2 separate regions of the Homo sapiens genome follow, and region 2 is linked to region 1. Evidence: promoter capture Hi-C in human tissues and cell types (Jung and others, 2019). All regions are on one chromosome and are shown on one strand. Each heading gives the region's core, a stretch centred on a gene start or on the middle of the fragment in contact. The rest is flanking DNA. Distances are from core to core; before and after follow the strand shown.

Region 1 (6,328 bases), core at 1,027-3,526:
CTCCACCTCCCAGGTTCAAGCAATTCTCGTGCCTCAGTCTCCCGAGTAGCTGGGAGGCACATGCCACCATACCCAGCTAATTTTTGTATTTTTAGTATAAATGAGGTTTTGCCATGTTGGCCAGGCTGGTCTCGAACTCCTGGCCTCAAGTAACCTGCCTGCCTTGGCCTCCCAAAGTGCTGGGATTACAGGATTGAGCCACCTGGCCCAGCCTGGCATTTTTTTTTTTTAACTATAATCTGAGTCACGTTTGGGAAAATGATAGGATATGATACAGCTAGACAGTGGATACATGAGATATTTATTATGCTTAAGTATGATTGAAATAGTTCGTATTAAAAAGGGCTGGGCTAGCAATCACTTACCATGTTCAACATTTTCTTCAAATATAACACAGGTCCCTAGAGTGTCTGCAGAAAAATACAAAGGCAAATTGTTGAGAAGAGCTACCATCTCTGAAAAGCCCATATCAGAAAGAGTTCCATCTATCTGACATCCTCCTACCTTCATACTCCCCAGCAAAGACACAGCTGTCCACTTGCAGAATGGGCCTCTCAGTGTCAATGCCCTACAACAGAATAAAGGATCATAAAAAAAAAACATAATTAGAAAAAGGCTTCAACATTGTAACCTTGCTACCAAGGAAACTAATCTCCAAAACTGGGGAACCTCTAGAGCATCTTGTCCTACCAAGTACAGGATAAACTACAACTGCTCTGATCACAGCAGTTACAACCTGAAGACTACTTAATTCATACTCAAGTAACAAGGTTTATTTCAATCAACATCCTGTTCAAGAGTAAGCTAAAAACAGAGGAAGTTTTGTCAACAGTAGTGCAAAGAGTCTATCTGTCATCTATTTATTTTTTGAGACAGTGTCTAGCTCTGTCACCCAGGCTGGAATGCAGTGGCATGATCATGTTCAGGCAATCCTCCCACCTCAGCCTCCTGAGCAGCAGGGACCACAGGCGCATGCCACCATCCCCAGCTAATTTATTATTATTATTATTTTTTTTTTTTATTGAGATGGAGTTTTGCCCTTTGTTGCCCAGGCTGGAGTACAGTGGCGCGATCTCGGCTCACTGCAACCTCTGCCTCCAGGGATCACGCGATTCTCCTGTCTCGGCCTCCCGAGTAGCTGGGATTACAGGCGCCCACCACCATGCCTGGCTAATTTTTGTATTTCAGTAGAGACGGGGTTACACCATGTTGGCCAGGCTGGTCTCGAACTCCTGGGCTCGTGATCTACCCGCCTCGGCCTCCCAGTATTGGGATTACAGGCGTGAGCCACCGCGCCTGGCCATTTTTTTTTATTATTATTTTAGAGAAGGGGTCTCGTTATGTTGCCTAGGATGGTCTCCAATTCCTGGGCTCAAGTGATCCTCCCACCTCTGCCTCCCAAAGTGCTGAGAATACAGGAATATATGTACGGTTCCATATCACAATGTTACTTCCTCCAAATCTGTAACTTTCTCTTCAGCCACACATTCAAACAGGCAAGCAAAGTTAGCCATTTTCTCCTATCTGCTCCCATAGTCCCCGCTGTACTTCTACATTATACTTAATTACATATTAATTAATTATACTTAGTATACTTCTTATCCTTAGAGTTCACTACTTTGTAAGGTGAAATAAATATATCAATACTTGCGGATAGGTATTTCACCATTGATTCTTGTTTTACATTTAAGACACTCTAGAACAATCCCCCCAAGTCTAGAAAACTCACCAAAACCTTGCATTTATTTTCACATTTTGAGAGGAAGTCTGAATCAATAATTCCTGATAATTCCACCAGAACCAACTGCTCCTGGTGAAAGAAAGAGGGGTTAACATGCTAGCACGCGAGCGGCCAAGAGGGAGCAATTAGCAAAAGAAGCCAAATTTCCCACATTTGTGAAAACCGGACCCTGTTTTCAGCAAGAGGAAACTACGCTACCTAAGGTAACTTCCCGGTACTTCCCATCCCAAGTACGGGGTGACGATTAGGGCTAAGGTCCCAAGCTGCCCGGCTCCTCGCGCCCAGGAGCAAGAAGCCGGTGAGGAGCAGTGGGGCCTCCCTCCGGCCCGCAGCTCCCCAACTCCCTTCCCCACACACAGCCAGCACAGGCATCACCGCCACTGCGGTGCAGGCTTTTGGCGTAGCGCTTACTACCTCCTCTTCCTCGTCTTCTCCGTCCTCTGGACTCCGCTCGTCCGCCGCCGCCGCCATGGTCCCGCGGCGCCTCGCCTTCTAGTCACTGGCCACGCCCGCCCGGAGCCGCCATCTTGAGTACGGGCTTCAGCTCCGAGGCGAAGCAGCTTATTGGGTTCCTGCCGCTCCGCTCCTCGCCGCGCAAATTGCTTCTGCCAGAACTCGAGATGTCGGCTTCCGGCGGGCGGGTGGCTACGGGCGCCGAGAGCGCCGGTACCCACGTGGAGACTCGCCACGGGCCTCCTCGTTTCTCGGTGCCTCAGAGCAGGGGCTGGGGGTGGGCTGCCGTAGGCAGCGGAGCCCGCTCGGTCACGCAAGAGTCGCCGGGCTCTCGGCCCCGCTGGCGGGGAGGACTGGCAAGGCAGAAGGGATAAAGGCGAAAACAAGGAAACCATGGTTTCAGGCGGATCATGGACAGAAAGGCCTTGTGTTTGACCCGAGCACATTTCTTGGAAAGAAATTCTTAATATTGTGTGAGCGCTCATCCTCAATTCAACGTACCCCAAGCCAAGTTAAAGGCACATTCAGTTTAATACTAATGAGCGCCTACACAGTAAAAAGCACTGCACCAGGAGCTATGAAAAATAGAAAGTGGGCTTAAGTTTCAGGCCTGCAGGAGCATAAGATCTGTGAGAGGTACATAAATGGATCCAAGCAAGTGCTGTAAGAGATACACATTGTTATAGGAACACAGAGACCTGGGCAAGAGAAGTTTGAACAGAATTTTCAGAAGTATCCCATAGATGTTTGTGATTGTGAAAGAAACGGTCTTCGTACTTGCGATAGCGTGATCTAGTGGTTAAGATCGTGAGTTTTGGATTTTTATTTATTTATTTATTTGGAGATGGAGTTTTGCTCTTGTTACCCAGGCTGGAGTGCAATGGTGCAATCTCGGCTCACTGCAGCCTCCACCTCCCGGGTTCAAGCGATTCTCCTGCCTCAGCCTCCCGAGTAGCTGGGATTATAGGCATGCGCCACCACGCCCGGCGAATTCTGTTATTTTTAGTAGAGACGGGGTTTCTCCATGTTGGTCAGGCTGGTCTCGAACTCCCGACCTCAGGCGATCCCCCTGCCTGGGCCTCCCAAAATGCTGGGATTACAGGTGTGAGCCACCGTCCCCAGCCTGAGCTTTGGATTTTAATACCAGTCAAGTTCTGCTGCATTATTAACAGCAAGGCTTTGGGCAGATTGGTGGTTGTGAGGATTAAATGAGACAATACATATAAAATAAATTTAGCCCAGTATTCAGCACATAGTAAGCATTTAAAGTGCATTTAATCTATTATTAGTAGTAATATATAAATTTTTTAGTATGATGCTCTTTCTCTCTTTCTTTTATTCATTGTTTGTTTCTTTCTTTCTCTCTTTCTTTCCTTTCTTTTTTGTGACAGGGTCTGGCTCTGTCGCCCAGCCTGGAGTGCAGTGGCGCCATCGTAGCTCCCTGTACCCTCAAACTCCTGGGCTCAAAGGGAGCCTCCTACCTCTGCTTCCTGAGTAACTGGGACTACAGGTGCACGCCACAGCGCCTGTCTTTACATAATGGTTGTATGAGTGTGCCATAACTTGATCCTCTATTTTTTAACACATAGGTTATTTACAATTTGTGGATATTGTAAATAACACTCTTTTGTGTATATTTTTGTCCAGTTGCCTAATTAAATGTATAGGATTTCATAGCTTAAAAAAGTAGAAGGAACACTGGACCTGTTAGAAGTACATTTCAATTCTAGCTCTGAAGCTTAATAATTGTGAAGTTTTCCAACCTCAGTTTTCTTATTTATTATATGAGGATGAAAATAATTATACTTAACACCGGGTGCGGTGTCTCAAGCCTGTAATCCCAGCACTTTAGGATGCTGAGGCGGGCGGATCACAAGGTCAGGAGATTGAGACCATTCTGGCTAACACGATGAAACCCTGTCCCTACTAAAAACACAAAAAAATTAGCTGGGCATGGTGGTGTGCACCTGTAGTCCCAGCTACTCCGGAGGCTGAGGCAGGAGAATGGCGTGAACCCGGGAGGCGGAGCTTGCAGTGAGCCAAGATTGTGCCACTGCACTCCAGCCTGGCCGACAGAGCAAGACTCCGTCTCAAAAAATAATAATAATACTTACTGTGTCTTTTTTGCTTGGAAAGCAAAAATTCAATCGTATATCTAAAAATACTTGGTAAACTGAAAAATTACATAAATTGTCAGATTTTGAGGGAGATGTGGGGAGAGTAAGGAGGAGTGGATAATCCAAGCTGAGGGAACAGCAGAAACAAAGGCTTGAGGAATGAAAATATGTGTGTTTTGAAAGGTTAGTGTGTTATAACTCAAGATGTCCCTTTAAAATAAACAAGCCTCATACTTCTAGCAAAAGTTATTGTTTGGTATTTATGAAGTAATTATTTTTATTTACTTTTAATGATTTACAAAAGAATACACAGTTAAAAGGGAGCTTTTTTTTTTCCTTTTTTTTTTTTTTTTTGAGACGGAGTCTGGCTCTGTCGCCCAGGCTGGAGTGCAGTGCCGTGATCTTGACCCACTGCAATCTCTGCCCCCTGGGTTTAAGCAATTCTTGTGTCTGAGCCTCCCTAGTAGCTGGGATTACAGGTGTACGATACCACACCGGGCTAATTTTTGTATTTTTAGTAGAGACAGGTTTCACCATGTTGGCTAGGCTGGCCTTGAACTCCTGACCTCAAGTGATCCACCTGCCTTGGCCTCCCAAAGTGTGAGCCACCGCGCCCAGCCAGAAAGTGAGCCTTCTACACCTGTCCCCCAACCATTTGTACCAGTTTCTTTTATATCCTTTCAAAGATATTCTGTGTGTTTACAAAAACACGTGTATATAAAATCTGTGAAATAATTTTTATTTTTAATTTTAATTTTTTTTTTGAGACAGTCTCATTCTGTCGCCCAGGCTGGAGTGCAGTGGCACCGTCTCAGCTCCCTGCAACCTCTGCCTCCTGGGTTCAAGCAGTTCTCTTGCCTCAGCCTCCCAAGTAGCTGGGACTACAGGCGCCTGCCACTATGCCCAGCTAATTTTTGTGTTTTTAGTAGAGACAGAGTTTCACCATATTGGCCAGGCTGGTCTTGAACTCCTGACCTCAGGTGATCCACCTGCCTCAGCCTCCCAAAGTGCTGGGATTACAGGTGTGAGCCACCATGCCCAGCCAATAATTTTAATATTATAATGTGGCTTGCAGACTGGAAAACCATTCCCTTGGAAGGAAGGAGGACATCATAGTAATGACTCCATGATCTAGAGCTTGTACCCTGTGAAAATAAGCTTAAAGTTTGAAACATCTCTCAGCTCAAAACAGGAGCTTATTAGGCACAATAAGCATCCATAAGCATCCATAGGCACCCGTCAGCATCAGCTTTGAAAGGAGACAAGCCTTTTGGTGACTGGGAGGAATTTCCACAATCTAACAGTGGGACTCCATTCTTAATACAGTCTACTCTCAATGACTTAGAATTCCTAAAAAGATTAAAAGGAGCGGGGTGCAGTGGCTCAGGCCTGTAATCCCAGAACTTTGGGAGGCTGAGGCGGGAGGACTGCTTAAGCCCAGGAGTTTGAGACCAGACTGGGCCATGTAGTGAGATCTCGTCTCTACAAAAAATTTTAAAAATTACCCAGGTATGGTGGCGCATGTGTTTAGTTTCAGGTTCTTGGGGGTGCTGAGGTGGGAGGCTCGCTTGAGCCCAGGATCTCGAAGCTGCAATGAGCTGCAATCATGCCACTTACTGTACTCCAGCCTGGGTGACAGAGTAAGACCCTGTCTCAAAAAAGAGAAAACATTGTGCCAAGTGAAAGAAGTCAAGACACAGAGGACCACATACTGAATGGTTCCATTTATATGAAATGTCCAGAATAGGCAAGCCTATAAAGAGAGATAGTAGGTTGGGCGTGGTGGCTCACACCTATAATCCCAGCTCTTTGGGAGTCCAAGGTAGGAGTATCCCTTGAGGCCAGGAGTTTGAGACCAGCCTGGGCAACATAGAGAGATCCCATCTCTATCTTTAAAGAGAGAGAGAGATTAGTGGTTGCCAGGGGCTTGGGAGGATGGTGGAATGAGGAGCGACTGCTACTGGATGAGGAGTTCCTTTTTTTTTTTTTTTTTTTAAGTAAAAGCAAGTTTATTAAG
Region 2 (6,315 bases), core at 17-2,516, 290 kb after region 1:
ACTTAAGCAATAAACTGACATTTTACTGAGAAGATAGTATTTGTAATATTTAGAAAATTCACTTCAGAAGTATCTGAAGTGCACACATTGATTTTACCTGTTTCTTTTTTTTTTTTTTTGAAACGGAGTTTCACTTTTGTTGTCCAGGCTGGAGTGCAGTGATGCAATCTCAGCTCACTGCAACCTCCGCCTTCTGGGTTCAAGTGATTCTCCTGCCTCAGCCTCCTGTGTAGCTGGGATTACAGGCATACACCACTACGCCCAGCTAATTTTGTATTTTTAGTAGAGACGGGGTTTCACCGTGTTGGTCAGGCTGGCCTTGAACTCCTCACCTCAGGTGATCCACCTGCCTCGGCCTCCCAAAGTGCTGGGATTACAGGTGTGAGCCACCACACCCAGCCTCTTTTTTAATGTAGCTGTTAAAAAGTGGAAAGTTATACATGTGGCTCCCAGTATATTTCTACTGGAAATCACTGCTGTAGTATAAACTCTATTTTTCTATTATTTCTTAAAATCAAATCAATGTTATTACTGAACAGTTTATAAAAATAAAAAAGCTGTATAAATAGCTTAATAATTTTACATACCATTTGGTCATCTTAAAGTTACTGGAGCGCTATTGACAATTTCATCAGTATTGTTTGCATAGGATTTTGATGGTCCTCAGTGTCCATTTTATGTTTTGGACAGAGGCAGGGGTGGGGTAGGGATGGAGGTGGAGGTGGGAGCACTGCGGGGGCAGGTAGCATTTTTTCCCTTTCAGTACAATGTTTTTATAACCCACAATATAACGTGGATATAAAAATTTGAATATGGTGACCCAGTTGTATTTATTTCAATGGGATCGAATTTCCTATTTTTTCTCTCTCTTCCTTTTTAGCAATTTCATATTTAACATTAACTCCTAGGAATATATTCTAATTTATTCTGTGCCAAAGATGAAACTTTTCCAATAATTCAAATATACACCTGATCAGTGATGTTACCCAAGTGTACTAAGTGCTAACTTTTTATAGAAAGTGAAGATTTACAGTTTTTCTTTCTTTTTTAAATCTTTCATTCTGTCAGTAGAGAATATAATACTCTTCTTCAGCAGCTGTTTCAATATCAGTCCTTTTTACCTTTTGGTCCTATTTAATGAAAATCTTAATGGTTTCAGTAAATTTAGTCATTATAACCCCTCATTAACATGGTCACAGTCACCCTCAAAATAGATTGTTTTGGTTGAACTTATTACTCAAATTATTTTTCTTTGTGTCATTATTGGCCTTTAATAAGTAATTTTAAAATATAGAGCATTTGTTACAGCATTGATTGTGTTTTATTGGCATAGATATTAGCAAAGACTATATTATTATGTTTTTTTTTAATTTTTAGCATATTATTAAGTTTCACCGTGCATCAAAAGCAAATAAAAAGCCCATGCAGTTGCCAAGATCTATGGTTAAATCCTTACTTTACCAGATTCTTGATGGTATCCATTACCTCCATGCAAATTGGGTGCTTCACAGAGACTTGGTAAGTATTTTTCTTTTAAATTCATCAATATGTTTTTCCCTACTCTTTTAAAAAATATATTTTCTTCTTGGTACCATTATAATAAAACATTAATTATAGAAAAACTTGAAAATATACATAAGCAAAAAAGAAGATAAAAATCACCCATAAACCTATAATAAAAAGATTAACACTATTTAACATTTGGTGGGTATCATTCCATTATATTTATGCATAGCTGTAAAATATCAGTGTGATTTTGAACAAATGATTACTGTACAATTTTAATGGAGTAGTCACATGTGAAGCATGCACATTTCAATCCAATTTGTTCTTCATATTATTGCTCATCATTAGTAAAAATGTAATTAATACTGAGTTCTCATTTTTCTTTCCCTTAAGATCTAAACTGAAATAATGACATTGCATCTAGTAAAAAGAATGTTATCAATATTAATAAACAAATGAATAAATAAATCTAACAGGTGGTATATACTTATTAGGCAAATTAGCTGCAAGTTAGTGTTTGATTTTACTTTTTTTTATTCAGTATACATGTAACCATTATTTACTGATATCAGATTATATTGCTAGATATTCATCTTCACATTGTTGTTATTTTAGTTTATGTTGATGCAAGTTTCTTTTGTTTGTTCTTAAGAAGATATGGTTATGGAATAGCTGTAATCCTCATTTTCTCCTCAGTTTATGTTGGAGGTTTTATTTTGGCCCCACAACGTGATTTCATGATCTTTTGTTTCTTAGGCTTTTGAGAATTCTGGGGATATGGTAGGGATACATCTAGGTAAATTCCATTTTATTAACTGATGAGCAGTGTTTATTGACGAAAGGATCTAGTTAGTATCCGTTGGGACCTTGTCAGTCAGGGCTACTCATCTGACTTGACCATTCTTGCTGTGATATTGTATAAATTGGGGTTAAATGATAGTGACCACAAAAGATGCATTTACCATATTAATGGAAGCATTTCTCCTTATAATTTTTTTTTTTTTTTTTTTTTTTTTTTTTTGAGACAGAGTCTCTCTCTGTCGCCCAGGCTGGAGTGCAGTGGCGCCATCTCGGCTCACTGCAACCTCCGCCTCCTGGGTTCAAGCAATTCTCTGCCTCAGTCTCCCAATTAACTGGGATTACAGGCACCCACCACTATGCTGGGCTAATTTTTTTTTTTTTTTTGTATTTTTTAGTAGAGACAGGGTTTCACCATCTTGGCCAGGCTGGTCTTGAACTCCTGACCTCGTGATCCACCCTCCTCGGCCTCCCAAAGTGCTGGGATTACATGTGTGAGCCACCGTGCCCAGCCTCTCATAATTTTTAACTGTAAGATTCTTTGAGGCTTCCATGTGTCCACTTTACTATTAGCTCTGAATCAGCATGTTTTAAAATGATTATTGGGCTGGGTGTGGTGGCTCATGCCTGTAGTCCCAGCACTTTGGAAGGCCGAGGTGGGTGGATCACTTGAGCTCAGGACTTCGAGACCGGCCTGGGCAACATAGCAAAACCCCATCTCTAACAAAAAATAGAAAAATTGGCTGGGCGTGGTGTGCTCCTGTGGTCCTCGCTGTTTGGAAGGCTGAGGTGGGAGGATGGCTTGAGCCTGGGAGGTGGAGGTTGCAGTGAGCTGAGATCACTGCAAACTCTGCCTGGGCAACTGAGCCAGACCGTATCTCAAAACAAATAAACAAAAAGATTATTGGGTACATGATGTTGTTCTAGATCATGAGAAGAACTCTTTCATAAACGGGCTTTTAGATTTTAATCTGCTGTGCACTTAATGAAACTTATGCAGGTTATATTTTTGAGGTTATGTTCATGTTTGAATCATTGATCAGAATCTTTTATTGAAGATTAATTTATCTGAGCTCCTCTCTCTTTTTCATAAAATTCTATATTTTGTTCTAAACAGCATAGCTTAACATATTTTATTCATGATATTGTCACCTGAATGTCCACTGATACCAAAATTTAGTATGCCCAGGACTCAGTTTCCTCCCATTCAGATTTGCTGCTGCTTTAGTGTCCTCTCTTTTGGTTATGGCACCACCCTCTTCCTAGCCTAGAAATTTATTTTACCTCTTTGCAGACCCTTCTTTGCACTCCACATTCAGAACTTGTCAAGTTCTTTCAGTGTTGTCTCTAAAATATGCCTTGCACTCATCTATTTTCATCTCTAGTCCTCATTCCTAGTTCAGGCTTTTATTACCTCTTTCTTGCATTGTGATACTAGCCTCTATACTTGTCTGTTGTCAACAATCTGTTTCCCTTCCAATCTACTTTCGACCTTCTGACTAATTACTCAGCTCCTGCTCAAGAACTTTGAAATAGTTCCTCATTGCTTACAGACTAAAACTCTACTTCCTTATTTGGCTTTCAGAGTTTTACCAATTATAACTTTAACTGCCTTTAAAATTTTTCTCTATCCCTGTCATCTTTCATGTATACTTTACTACTGAACTATTGAGTGTTCCCTGTCTCCTCCTGGGATTTCCTGCCTTAATGGCCTTTATTTCCCCTATCTTAAAACCCCTTATCCCTGTCTCAACATATTCAAATACTATCTGTCTTTCAGGGCCCAACACAAATGTTAATTAAAACTTACCCTCATATCCATGTCTACTTGGAACCAATCTCTTCTTGTTGTTGGTTCCTGTTGTACTGCATCTTTACTTCTGTTATGGCATTTATCTATTAGTATTATAGCAGTTTAGAGATCTCTTAGAACATCTCGTAGCCTGTGAACTTCTTGAGAGAGCAAGATCTATGTCTGACTCTTTTTGTACACTACTGCCCCTGTACACAATAGGTGTTGAGGAAGTATTTCCTCAGTGAATGAGTATTAGGGAGAATAGTACTGACATTTTGGGGATCAGGCATTTGAATACACTATCCTTAATGAACATTTTTTGTTTTCTTGTATGTGTAAAGCACAGAGGGATGGGAACAACACAAATATGACCATGTCAAACACCTTCTTCTCAAGGAGCCTTGAAGAAATATGACATACACACAAACAATTATACTATAAGATAGATGAGAGAGAATGTGATTGTAGCTACATGAGAAGTACAGACTGAATCTATGCAAGGCCAGAAGAGCTTCTGAGTAGGGGATAAGGGTAAGTTTGAAAGAGCAGGTTGCATTTGAGCTGGACTTTGAAGGATGACTAGAATTTAAATAGAGACTTGGGTGATGAGGGTAACCCAAGGGAGTTTTAGATGTAAAACTTCTGAGGTAAAGAAGCACTTGGATTATCTCAGAAAGGATGTGCAGTTCTGGTTGGCTCAAATATGGATAAGCTGAATTGCAGTAATGTGAGGTCATGCTCAGAAGATATGGGTTGGAGCCTACTAGAGTTAGAGAGTTTTTGGGGTCTTTTTGTTTGTTTAAGTACTGACAGTTTGTGAGCAACAGAATGATTTTTTCCCCCACTAGAAAAGCCACCACTGATTATTATTACCTCATCAATGGCATGAACACAATGTTGAAAATGCATTCTGAATATGGTTCTTACGTAGTATAGCACTGGTTTATATTTTACCCACACATTTACTGAATGCCTCCAACTCCTCAAGTGAGTAACTCTAATAAGATTTGAAATTTTGAACTGACTGGGCATGGTGGCTCATGCTTGTAATTTCAGCATGTTCGGAGGCCAAGGCAGGAGGATCACTTGAGCCCAGGAGTTCAAGAGTAGCCTGAGCAACATAGTGAGTCCCCATCGCTACAAAAAATAAAAAATTAACTGGGTGTGGTGGTGCATACCTGTAGTTTCAGCTACTGAGGAGGCTGAAGTGGGAGGACTGCTTTAGCCCAGGAGGTCAAGGCTGCAGTGAGCCACGATTGTGCCACTGCGCTCCACTCCAGCCTTGGGCAACAAATTGAGACCCTGTCTGAAGAAAAAGAAACTTTGAACCAACAGGAATCTAGTCTGTGATAGCCTCTTCAATTCTTGATTCACTAATCTTGAGTCCTGATATCTGTGCCATATTGTCATGGTTTTGCCAAAGTACTTTCAGGAGTAGATTTAAACTGTATGCTTGCTTTATAAATACATTCTGTAGTAGATACAGAAATATAAAGTATATGAAATATGAATATGGTCTTAAAAAGAGGATGATGGAGACATTTGAAAAATTATGTTTTGTGAGTTTAAGAGTTGCTGTTGTAGTCAGTGACTAGTTTTGTTTTTCTTAATGCTTCATTTTCTATTGCTGTAAGAAATTTGGCTTGACACTATTTGATAGTCACAACTGAGTGCTCACCATCTCTAAATTTCATTTGATGTGAGAAACCTGGAAAATCCATATAATTAAATGTGTTAGAGTAAATATAAATTTACAGTATAATATAAAAAATTTAAAGTAAATAAAAGTCAGTGTTTTGGACATCACACACAGAGGCATTACATCATCATAAAGGTTGGTGTTTTTCATTATGATTGATTTTATATCTGAATCAATATTTTAATTATGTCATTCGAATCCTAGAATTTAATACAGAAATAGAGAATGTAAATAAAGTCACCAAAAATAACTTAAAATGAAGAATTGCTTTAAAAGGAAAGGAGAAAGAGAGCTAAATATGTTCATCTTGGCTGAGAGACAGTGAAGTAGAGGCATAAGTCTATAAATATTTGGAACTTGTAAACACCAAGGGAGAAAAGATGTATTTTAATTTTATAGCAGGATATAGCTAAGAGTAAGAAAATGAAATATAGGATGACTCATTTTTATGGGATTACTATTTTGGTAGATTGGAAGAATGCCAAGATATAGTTTATCTCTTTTTCAAAATTATGAG

Evidence for each region. Contacts are between HindIII fragments. The study calls those that stand out against the background at their distance.
Region 2: a contact is called between a fragment that was not itself captured here and the fragment with the promoter of GTF3C6 in region 1, in 1 of the 25 tissues and cell types used here (heart left ventricle).

What each region holds. Positions count from the first base shown.
Region 1 is chr6:110,954,654-110,960,981 of GRCh38, reverse strand. GTF3C6 (general transcription factor IIIC subunit 6) reads right to left here and starts at 2,276. Exons shown (of 6, transcript NM_138408.4): 1 at 2,156-2,276; 2 at 1,730-1,810; 3 at 505-568; 4 at 366-410. The coding sequence starts at 2,212. RefSeq lists an enhancer at 1,954-2,403. The HindIII fragment of the contact is 9,932 bases long and covers 1-4,701 here.
Region 2 is chr6:110,662,637-110,668,951 of GRCh38, reverse strand. It overlaps CDK19 (cyclin dependent kinase 19), which reads left to right. Exons shown (of 13, transcript NM_015076.5): 4 at 1,378-1,518. Among named protein-coding and RNA genes, the nearest start is that of CDK19, 150 kb to the left of the region's middle. The HindIII fragment of the contact is 6,157 bases long and covers 1-4,344 here.